2 separate regions of the Homo sapiens genome follow, and region 2 is linked to region 1. The links are contacts of gene promoters, found by promoter capture Hi-C in human tissues and cell types (Jung and others, 2019). All regions are on one chromosome and are shown on one strand. Each heading gives the region's core, a stretch centred on a gene start or on the middle of the fragment in contact. The rest is flanking DNA. Distances are from core to core; before and after follow the strand shown.

Region 1 (5,518 bases), core at 2,155-4,654:
GCTGGGATTACAGGCTTGAACCACCACATCTGGCCCCTAAAATGGGAGAATTAACTCCAAAAACTCACATGGTTGTTGTAAGGATTAAAACAGCCCTATTTATCTCAAGTGTCCAGCAGACAGCCTGACCCATTACATATTACTTTTTTCTTCCTTTAACCACCCACCCACTTTAGCCCTCACGCTGCCATCCCCCAGCCCCTAGTTCTATTTCAGGAAGCTCCTCCATCTCTCTGTGCTTCTCAAGAGTTTCTAAACTTCAGGATTCCACCTTGATGTTGCTACTCCTGAAAATGCAGATTATATACAAGAGCATTTACGCAAATGCACAGCAACCCTGATACACAATTTGAATCCAAATCCATGTCACTGTTTAAGAAATAGATTGGCCAGACACAGTGGCTCACATCTGTAATCACAGCACTTTGGGAGGCCAAGGTGGGTGGATCACCTGAGGTAAGGAGTTCGAGACCAGCCTGACCAACATGGAGAAACCCCATCTGTACTAAAAATACAAAATTTGCCGGGCATGGTGCATGCCTGTAATCCCAGCTACTCAGGAGGCTGATTCAAGGAGAATCGCTTGAACCTGGAATGCGGACGTTGCAGTGAGCCGAGATCGTGCCAGCCTTGGCAACAAGAGTGAAGCTACATCTCAAAAAAAAAAAACAGAATTAGATTAGTTCCAGGCCAAGCACGGTGGCTCACGTCTGTAATCCCAGCACTTTCGGAGGCCAAGGCAGGTGGATCACCTGAGGTCAGGAGTTCAAGACCAGCCTGGCCAACATGGTGAAACAACTCTCTCTACTAAAAATACAAAGATTAGCCGGGAGTGGTAGTGGGCACCTGTAATCCCAGCTACTTGGGAAGCTGAGGCAGAAGAATCGCTTGAACCCAGGAGGCAGAGGTTGCAGTGGGCCAAGACCAAGGCATTGCACTCCAGGCAACAAGAGTGAAACTACATCGTCTCAAAAAAAAAGAAAGATTAGTTCCAAAGCTGGTAAATTCTAAAGGGGCTGTGATGCTCCATTCCAACGCAACCTAGAAAACTTACTTTTAAATAAAATTATCTGCACCACTCCCTCTGGCTCTCCATATGAACGGCTCATGTTTCTATCACGCTAATGATCACTTTTGAACAATATTTGCATTTTTCTTTCATGTACTGACTCAAAAGTTCTCAACTCTGACTGCATGTTAAAATCATCAGGGGAGCTTATTAAAATATATAGATAGAAACCCAGGTCCCACCCTAAATTCTTATTTCAAAGGTCTAGAATGAATCAGAAAAGGCTAGTTAAGTTTCCCTGGTGATTGCAATGAACAGCCAGGGTCAGGACACCCACACCTGTTGGGCAGGTCTTCTTTAATTCATCCTTGCATCCCCATCAGCTGGAGTGGCTCCTGCACATAGTAGGCGTCTCATAATTGCTCATGGCACAAATTAATAACCACTGGATTTTAGACTCCACTGATCATATTAATTCATCACAGTATTTACGGAGGATGTACGATGTACCAGGCACTGTTCCAGGCATAGTGTTCAAGTCAATTGTCATCATTAAAACGAAGGAGGCCGGGCGCGGTGACTCACGCCTGTAATCCCAGCACTTTGGAAGGCCGAGGTGGGTGGATCACGAGGTCAGGAGTTCAAGACAAGCCTGGCCAAGATGGTGAAACCCCCGTCTCTACTAAAAATACAAAAACTAGTCAGGCGTGGTGTCGGGCGCCTGTAATCCCAGCTACTCGGGAGGTTGAGGCAGAGAATTGCTTGAACCCGGGAGGCGGAGGTTGCAGTGAGCCGAGATCTCGCCACAGCACTCCAGCGTGGGCAACAGAGGGAGACTCCGTCTCAATAATAATAATAATACTAATAATAATAAACGCAAAACAGAGAAGGGAGGAGTGAGGGAACTATCTTTGGGTCAGACAATCCGGAGTTCAATCTCCATTTTGCAGTCTTCCCTATAGCCCTTAACCTCCGTAACCTCCAGTTTCCTCCTCTGGGTAATATCAGTGAGGCCTCTTCTTCGGAGGATTCAGGAAGCCAGGGACAAAGACCCCACAAAATGGCCGCCAGCACCATTCTTTTTTTTTTTTTTTTTAATTCCACTGACACCTGGTGAAGCCACCCTTATGGTTCACTCCACCCGCCGCGTCTCCTGTTCCGAGCAACTGACGCTGCAATAAGCGGCCGCCACCGGGAAATGCCCAGAGAGGACCAGACGCCCGAGGAAGGGCGGAGCAGAGCGGCCGCAGGCCCCGCCCAACACCGCGCTCAGCCTCCCGCGGGCTCCAGCCTCACCTGCGCGGCCTGTGGAGCTGCACATCTCCAGGCCCCGCCCCCCAGAACTCTGATTGGCGGGTCTAGGCGGGGGCCGGGAAATCTGCATTTGCACCAGCGCCCACCCCCGTCCTTCCCACCCCCGCCCCTCACGCCCAGGTAAGTCTATGGCAGGCGATACGAGAGCCCCGCAAACCTCAACGCGTCACGCTGCCATCCTCCGAACAGGAAGACGGCGAGGCGCAAAATACCAACCCGTCCCCTCTTCCCAAATGCAGAAAAACCCTTGCCTGTTCCGCGCCTAAGCTGCCCTCGGGGTCTCCTACTGCGGGAAGGGCACAGCAGGTGGCAGCCCCTGTCCCAGCCGTGGGATTCCTTCCCCGAAATTGTGGGGGGAGAACACAAGGGGTAGTGTCACCAAGCGGCCAGTAGGAGACCCTCCCACCCTCCTGCGACTGCTGGTTCGGGTCCACCCCGGGCGGAGGGGGAAGGGGCCACCGGAGCGCAGGTGGTCTCGGCGCAGCCTCCTGGGGCTGGGACCCAGGGGCGCTGATGGGGTACCCCGAGGCGTAGGCCGCGCCCCCCTAAAAGCTGAGCATATCTGGGCTCCCGAGTAATGCTCCAAGCGCAGAGCTCGGTGTGACACTGACCAAATTGTTACCTCAGATATTAATTACGGACAGATATTAATTACGGAACAATAAAACGGTGAGAAAGCACGGCTGATCCGAATTCCGCGAGTGTGTAAACAGCACTGGGGCGGGCCCGGCTTCTCGGGGTTTCTAAAGGAAGGTGGGCAAGGAGGCCCAGGCAACCGGGCGCTCGAACCCCAAAGGGCCGGCATCAGGCTAGGTGCCGCCCGGGGCTGAAGCGCAGGGACCCCCTCCCCACCTCCCCGCCTCCCCAGCCCTGCCCCAGGCTCATGGCGCCGGGCGCGGCGCGCGGCCAACCTGTCAGGCCCGGCCAGGCTGGCCCGAGCGCCGGGCTCCGGGAGGCGCGGACAAAGGAAAACACGGGCCCAGGCCCACTCACCCGGCGCGGGGCCTGCTGTCCATCCGCTTCTTCTGGCGCACCGGCTGCAGCGGGATGTTGTCCGTCATGTCGGCGGCGCCGCCCGCCTTGGCCGCCGCGCCCCCCGCGCCGCCTGGGCCGCCGCCCGGTCCGGCCTCCGCGCCGCCGCCCGCCGGCGCCGCGCCGCCCCGGGGGAGGAGGCGGCGGCAGCGGGCGGGCCGGGCCCGCAGCGAGGGGGCGAGCTCGCGAGCGCCGGGCCACGCGCGGAGCGCCCGCGCGGCCCGACCGACGGACACGGGCGCACCATGGGCCCGAGCTCCGCGCTGCGCCCGCTCGCTCCGCGCCGCGCCGCGCCTGCCACGGGGGGCGGCCGGGCCGTGTCCGCGCCGCCGCGACCGCTGCAGTGTCCCCGCCCCCGGCCCGCGCCCGCGCCCCCCACGCGCGCCCACCCGGCCACGCGCCCCCCGCCCACGCCCGCCGTGCGCGCACCCTGCCACCGCACCCCCCGCAAAATCCCACATTCACAATCACATCCCAGCCCTATACACGCGCGCTGTGACACTCATCCCCACCAATATCTGACATGCACAATCACACGGGCACCCGGCCACGCTCACCCCATCAGTCAGTCATTCTCACTCACTCTTGCACCAACGTGCATATTCACGCCCAGGCCCTACACACACACCTGCCACTGCTCACTGCCTGCAACATCTAACATTCACAATCACATGTGAGTCCTGCACACACACATAACACTCTCACCCTCCTGTTGGTCACCATCATCCATGCACCCAGTTTCTCAAGCCTCACACCCATGTGCCTGCAGAAATCACAGTCACACAGGGACCCTCAGCTTATCAGACTCCTTCACCCTCTGACCTTCACCATCCTCACCCTCATTCTCTATCTGGATTCTGGGAACTCACCATGACACACACGCACCTGCCTCTTTCATCCAAACACCCTTCAATAGTCTGAACACCCTCATTCTCACACCAGCCACTTTCTTGGGCTTGCACATGGGCCCCACTCTCAGGCCTCAGACAGTCACCCTGCATTACCTGTCACTGTGATTCACGGTCTCACACACACACCTATCTCCACCGCAGCCCACATCCACACTCACTTCCACACCCTCCCACACAGTGTCTGGGACCCATGAACTTTTCAAAGGCCTGATAAAGTTATGAGAGCAGGAAAAAAAAAACAGAGGGAAGGAACAAAGTGAGGGAGTTTAAAAATCAATATGTAACTAAAGAGCCTGAAATTGTAATAATACCATATAAACTAATCTAAAGCTGACTTTTACATAGTTACATCTAATGACTGATCATGTTGGACGCCGTTTCTTTTTTTTCTTTTTGAAACAGAATCTCCCTCTGTCGCCCAGGCTGGAGTGCAGTGGCAAAATCTCAGCTCACTGCAATCTCTGCCTCCCAGGTTGAAGCAATTCTCCTGCCTCAGCTACCCGGGTAGCTGGGGTTATACATGTGCCTGGCTAATTTTTGTAGTTTTAGTAGAGATGGGGTTTCACCATGTTGGCCAGACTGGTCTTGAACTCCTGGCCTCATGTGATCTGTCCACCTCGGCCTCCCAAAGTGCTGGGCTCTTCCTTGGCATTTGCTAAATGCCATAGAGATTTAATTGGGATGAAGGAAGAGCATCCGGCCCAGTCCACCTTTCCAACTCTCACCAGAAGCCTTTCCCTGCTCCCACGGGCCACTGCGCTTGGCCCTTTTATTTTGTTTTATTTGTTTGTTTTTTTAAGTTAGTGCTAACTGCCAGCAAGTGGATGCCTTTTGTGTTTGCTGTCACACAGGATGGAGCCACCAAATATCCCAGTGTCTGAGGTGGATCTCAAACCAAGAAGTGTGACTTATCTCATGCACCAGAGAAGTTCCTCAAGAAAAGAAGCATGTCATTAGTAATTGCTGCATTGCACATTTGGAGAGGAAATAGCATTCTCCAGCCAACAGGCCTGGTGTGCTTTGCTTCCTGCTGTCTCTTCTACATCTAAAATGATGCTTCGTACATAGCATGGCACAAGTTGGCACTCAATAAAGGCTTCTTGCATGGAAGAAGGATAAACACCCTGACACACCAATTATGGCATCAGTGTGGGTCCCACCATCTCCCATCTGCTTTGCTAGACATCCCCCTTTCAAACTCCACACCCTCTTCTCAACCCCACTACTACACAGGGTACAAGAGAAGACCAAG
Region 2 (6,186 bases), core at 2,796-5,295, 360 kb after region 1:
TTGGGTGGCAGCAGCTGGCTGGCCAAGCCTACGTTACGTGGTTGTCCAGCTCCTAGGGCATGGGAGGAGTAGCTGGTGCCTGCCAGCCTGTACCATGTGCGGTGGGTCACTATCTTCCACTGAGATGAACATAATAACTGGTGTCTCTGCACAGGGAGAGGTTGGACCTGAGCAGCCCTAATGATAACTATCAGCCACTGATGGCTTAACACAAGATACACTGGGAAAGCAAATTATTAGAGCTGCCACTGAATATGGCTACACTAATTGACTGCCTACTGTGTGCGAGGTACTTAACAACTTAACATGGTTTTTTGTTTTTTTTTTTGAGACAGAGTCTCACTGTGTCACCCAGGCTGGAGTGCAGTAGTGCCATCTTGGCTCACTGCAACCTCCGCGCCCTGGGTTCAAGTGATTCTCCTGTGTTCAAGTGATTCTCCTGTGTTAGCGTTCTGAGTAGCTGGGATTACAGACACCTGCCACACCTGTCTAATTTTTGTATTTTTAGTAGAGATGGCGTTTTACCATGTTGGCCAGGCTGGTCTCGAACTCTTGACCTCAGGTGATGCGCCTGCCTCGGCCTCCCAAAGTGCTGGGATTTCAGGCATGAACCAGCGTGCCCGGCCCACAACACGTATTGTTTTATTTAATTCTTCCCTACAACATTATAAGGTAGGTACTTTTACTATCCCCATTATAGAGAAGAAGAAACTGAAATTCGGGAAGTTATTTCACGCATCTGGGTCAGACACCTGGGAAGATGTGGAGCTGGAATTTCAACCCAGTTCTTTCTGACTTCAGAACCCTTTGCTTAACCATTACCCTCTACTGTCAATCATTCTAGTTCTTCATGGGCCTGTTTAAAACTACAACTCAGGCTTAAAAGGTCTTTGAATGACAGCACCTGCCTGCTTAAAGGTAATCTGGGTGCGTCTATGCTTTCTACACCAGACTAGGTTGAAAGATGCCCTATAAAGATGACTGTTGGTTGGGTACAAGAAATTTTAATACTGAGAAAAATTTAAATTCTCATTGAGCATTCAACATATCAATCTTTCAAATTAATCTGAAGTCTGACTCTCCTTCTGGAGATACATGGTAACTTAGATTTGGCACAAAATGAATAGAATTCTCTTTAGGATTTTATGTAAAGTCTCATAAAAGCTTAGGCATCTCCAACATCTTATGCCTTTTATGCACCGTCTCCTGTGAGGTGCTGAGTCTTAGAGCCAATAGGGAAAATGGTGCCTTTAATGAAAGACACCCATATGGAGGCAAACAGGTGGTGGGCAAATTGGGTGGGGACTCTTATGGGTAGGTTTTCCGTCAGTGGAAAGAATTTTTTTTTTTTTTTTAAAGGAAGTGATATGGTTAGGCTTTGTCAGAATTTTTTTTTTTTTTAAGACAGTCTTGCTCTGTCACTAGGCTGGAGTGCAGTGGTGTGATCTCAGCTCACTGCAACCTCCACTTCCCAGGTTCAAGCAATTCTCCTGCCTCAGCCTTCTGAGTAGCTGGGACTACAGGCGTGCGCCACCACACCCAGCTAATTTTTGTATTTTTAGTAGAGACGGGGTTTCACCATGTTGGCCAGGCTGGTCTCAATCTCCTGACCTCATGATCCGCCGGCCTCGGCCTCCCAAAGTGCTGGGATTACAGTTGTGAGCCACCACGCCTGGCCCAGAATTTTTTTTTTAAAGGAAGTGATACGGTTAGAAATTTTTTCTTTTAAAGGGAAGATTTTTTTTTTTAAAGGAAGTGATATGGTTAGGCTTTGTGTTCCCACCCAAATCTCATCTTGAATTATGATTCCCATAATCCCCACGTGTCAAGGGAGAGACCAGGTAAAGGTAATTGGATCATGGGGGCGGCTGCTGTTCTCATGATAGTGAGTTCTCACAAGAGCTGACGGTTTTATCAGGGGCTCTTCCCCTTTCACTCGGCACTTCTCTTTCCTGCCTCTTTGTGAAGAAGGTGCCTTGCTTCCCCTTTGCCTTCTGCCATGACTGTAACTTTCCTGAGGCCTCCCCAGCCATGCTGAACTGTGAGTTGATTAAACCTTTTTCCATTATAAATTACTCAGTCTCACACAATTCTTTACAGCAGTATGAAAATGGATTAATACAGGAAGCAAGACAAGAAGACAGGATGGGAAGAAATTTTACAAAGACAAATCCTTTTTTTCACCATACTTGTGTTGAGAGTGACTTTAAAGCAGTATTGTAGTGAAAACGTGATTTTCACTTATCCAGATATTGAACACTGTCTACAGCAACTCAGTAGGAAATAATAAGTTGAGGATATTCACTGGTAGTCTACTACTGTGTAAGACAGTTTTTGCTATACAACGACCTCAAAATCTCAGTGGTTTTCCACACAAATGTTTATTTATTTTTTTCCCGGGTCTGTGGGTTCACTGTGGCTCTGTGGAGCTTGGCTCTGGGCTGTGGTTTGGATTGAGGTGTGTTCCATGTGTCTGTTCATTTCTGTTTAGGCCATCAGTTACTCAGAATCTGTTCTAAGGCAGATCACTCCAGAGCAAGAGGTTGTGTCAAATTCTACAGCCACATTGAAAGCCCCTGTTCCTGGACTAGATGTGGTGGCTCACGCCTCTAATCACAGCACTTTGGGAGGCCAAGGCAGGAGGATTGTTTGAGGCCAAGAGTTTGAGACCAGCCTGGGCAACATAGCAAGACTCTCTCTATAAATAATAATAATAATACCCCTGTTCCCATCAGGTCCACTGATATTCCATTGGCCAAAGCAAGTCAAATGGCTTTGCCCCATTATGGTGGTGCCCCACCCACCATAATGTCAATGGACAAGGTGGGTAAATATTCTGTAGCTGGAGAAAGGACAGAATTTGAGACCATTATCTAGCCTACCATAGCAACTAACCTGAAAACAGGAATAAAATCATACAGCTGGGATGAGAACAGATTGATAAAGATGGACACATTTACAGTATTAATAAATGTATACCTAAACTGCTAGGTGGAAAAAGCAAACTGATCTGCTTTGTGGCACCTAACTTGTTATTCTTGGAAAACTGACCTGAGGGAGGTGAAATTCTATACTGCCTTGTGTTGAGTTGCTGCACTCCACCACTGGAGGGCAGCATTAGTCACCATTTTACTAAAGCTTCTGAGCTTGGTCTTCCGTCAGTAACAAGGGCTGATTTCCACCTGGTCTCCCACAGTCTTTACCACTTTCAAAAGTGCCCCAGCTTGGATGATAAACTACACGATCGTCTTATATACATGGTATAACTGTGGCATTTCTTTTCCAGAAATGAACAAAATTTCCAGAAGCTAACACTCCACAAGGAGCTCCGACCTTTTTTTAAATTTTCTTTCTTTTTCTGAGACGGAGTCTCATTCTGTCACCCAGGCTGGAGTGCAGTGGCACGATCTGGGCTCACTGCTACCTCCGCCTCCCAGGTTCAAGCCATTTTCCTGCCTCAGCCTCCCGAGTAGTTGGGATTACAGGCGCGCACCACCACTCCTGGCTAATTTTTTTTTTTTTTTTCTTGAGATGGAGTCTCGCTCTGTTGCCCAGGCTGGAGAGCAGTGGCGCGATCTCGGCTCACTGCAAGCTCCGCCTCCCGGGTTCACGCCGTTCTCCCGCCTCAGCTTCCCAAGTAGCTGGGACTACAGGCGCCCACCACCACGCCCGGTGAATTTTTTTTCTTTTTTTCTTTTTTTTTTTGTATTTTTAGTAGAGATGGGGTTTCACCGTGTTAGCCAGGGTGGAATTTTTTTGTATTTTTAGTAGAGATGGGGTTTTGCTATGTTGCCCAGGCTGGTCTCTTAACTCCTGAGCTCAGGCAGTCTGCCTGCCTGGGCCTCCCAAAATGCTAGGATTACAGGTGTGAGCCACCGTACCCAGCCGCTCCAGCCTTTTTTATTTGCCTTTTTCCTTCTAGCAAAAATGTTCCAATTACAAATACCCTCTGTCTTTCCAGACTGCCCTAACGTCCAGTGCACCTTAGAATGCTCATTTCCCTCACTCCTCCGTTCTTTGTCTTCAATTGTGTAACTCCTATGTAGCATTTTGACTCAGCTCAGGTGCTGGTCACCCCGGCCCTGGCCCATTTCAGCCTCTTGGACCTAAATCTGGGAAGGCCTGTTCCCAGATGCTCCTCATGGTGCCTGCTTCTGTTCCTCATGGTGCCTCTGTATCCCATTAAAGCACATATGTGTTGTGACAACTCGCCTGTCTGCCTAACTAGACTGTAATCTCCCAGGGGGCAGGGATCCTGCCTGCCCTGTGTCACCACCATGGTATGCCCCGGGGCAATTCATCTTTGCTGAATGAGTGCAATCGTCATTATTGTTTATTATTATAATAAAACATGTCAGACACACAAAAAACTCCTGCTGCCTGCTCCTCTTTCCCTTGCTCACTCTTCCCTGGCCACGTTCCTGCTTTAAGGTTTTTGCATTCCCTTTGCCTGGAACTCTGTTCCTCTCGAGATCCACATGGCTCCCTCACTCCCTCATTCCAGTCTTTGTTCCAATCTCAACTTCTTAGGGAGAACTACTCTGACCCGCAGGCTCCTCTCCCTCATCATACTCAGTCCCTCCACCCTGCCATGGCACTTACCAGCTTCTAAGACACTGTATATGGTGCCTACAATTGTGTTTTGTTTGTTTGTTTGTTTTTGGCAGGATCTTGCTCTATCACCTAGGCTGGAGTGCAGTGGCACAATCATGGCTCACTGCAGCCTCAAGTGCCCAGGCTCAAGTGATCCTCCCACCTCAGCCTCCAAAGTAGCTGAGACTACAGGAATGTTCCACCATACCCGACTAATCTTTTTATTTTTTGTAGAGAGGGGGTCTCCTTATGTTGTCCACTCTGGTCTTGAACTCCTAGCCTCAAGCGATGCTCCTGCCTCGGCCTCCCAAAGTGCTGGGATTACAGATATGAGCCACTGCACCCCGTCCATTCTGCTTATTATTTATCTGTTTTCTCTTATGAGAAGGCAGATTCCATAAGGTCACGATCATTTCCTTTTTGCTCATGGAAACTTCACATGTTTCCAGAACAACATCTAGCCTATAGTAGGTGTTCAGGAAACATTTATCAAACTTCTTAGGGCTGATGGCCATGTGACACCAGGCAGGCTCTTGCAATCTCTAGCCCCTAGTTGTTTATCTTAGTATTTTCCACATTACTCAGATCAGAACACTCTCCAGGGTGCCAAATTTAAAATACAGATTCTCGGCCCAGTGTGGTGGCTCATGCCTGTAATCTCAGCACTTTGGGAGGCTGAGGCGGGTAGATCACGAGCTCAGGAGATTGAGACCATCCTGGTGAAACACCATCTCTACTAAAAATACAAAAAATTAGCCAGGCATTGTGGCGGGCGCCTGTAGTCCCAGCTACTCAGGAGGCTGAAGCAGGAGTATGGCGTGAACCTGGGAGGCAGAGCTTGCAGTGAGCCAAGATTGGGCCACTGCACTCCAGCCTGGGCGACAGAGCAAGACTCTGTCTCAAAAATAAGAATAATAATAAAATAAAATACAGATTCTCATCTTCATTAAAGGAAGGGAGGAAGACAGGAAGAAAGGAAAACAGGAAGGAAGGAAAGGAGGGAAGGAAAGAAAAGAAAGGGAGGAGGGAAGGAAAGGAAAGAAGAAAAAGAAGAAAGGAAAAGAAGGAAGGACGGGAAGGAAGGAAGAAAAAGAAAAAGGAAAAGAGAGAGAAGAAAGAAAAGAAAGAAAGCAAGAAAAGAAGAAAGAAAAGCAGGCCACAAAACAAGCAGAAAACAAATAAAATGGCAGGAGCAAGTCCTTACTTAACAATAATATAACATTGAATGTAAATGAACTAAAGTCTCCAATCAAAAGACATGGAATGGTTGAATAGATTAAAAAACAAGACCCACTGATCTGCTGCCTACAAGAAACACACTTCCCCTAAACACACATAGGCTAAAAATAAAGGGATGAAAAAGATATTCTATGCCAATGGAAACCAAAAAAGAGCAGGGGTAGCTATACTTAAATCAGACAAAATACATTTCAAGACAAAAACTATAAGAAAAGCAGGTCACTATATATAATGTTTATAAAGGGGTGAATTCAGCAAAAAGATATCGCAGTTTTAAATATATATGCATCCAACTCTGGAGCACCCAGATATATAAAAGAAACATTATTACAGCTAAAGAGAGAGTTAGGCCCT

Evidence for each region. The method cuts DNA at HindIII sites, captures the fragments that hold promoters and counts their contacts. A contact is called where the count stands out against the background at its distance.
Region 2: a fragment that was not itself captured here is called in contact with the fragment with the promoter of ATP9A in region 1 in 1 of the 25 tissues and cell types used here (heart right ventricle).

Annotation. Positions count from the first base shown.
Region 1 is chr20:51,764,986-51,770,503 of GRCh38, forward strand. ATP9A (ATPase phospholipid transporting 9A (putative)) reads right to left here and starts at 3,405. Exons shown (of 28, transcript NM_006045.3): 1 at 3,317-3,405. The coding sequence starts at 3,384. The HindIII fragment of the contact is 32,964 bases long and covers 1-5,518 here.
Region 2 is chr20:52,125,572-52,131,757 of GRCh38, forward strand. It overlaps a transcript of ZFP64 not described here. Among named protein-coding and RNA genes, the nearest start is that of ZFP64, 63 kb to the right of the region's middle. The HindIII fragment of the contact is 3,788 bases long and covers 2,152-5,939 here.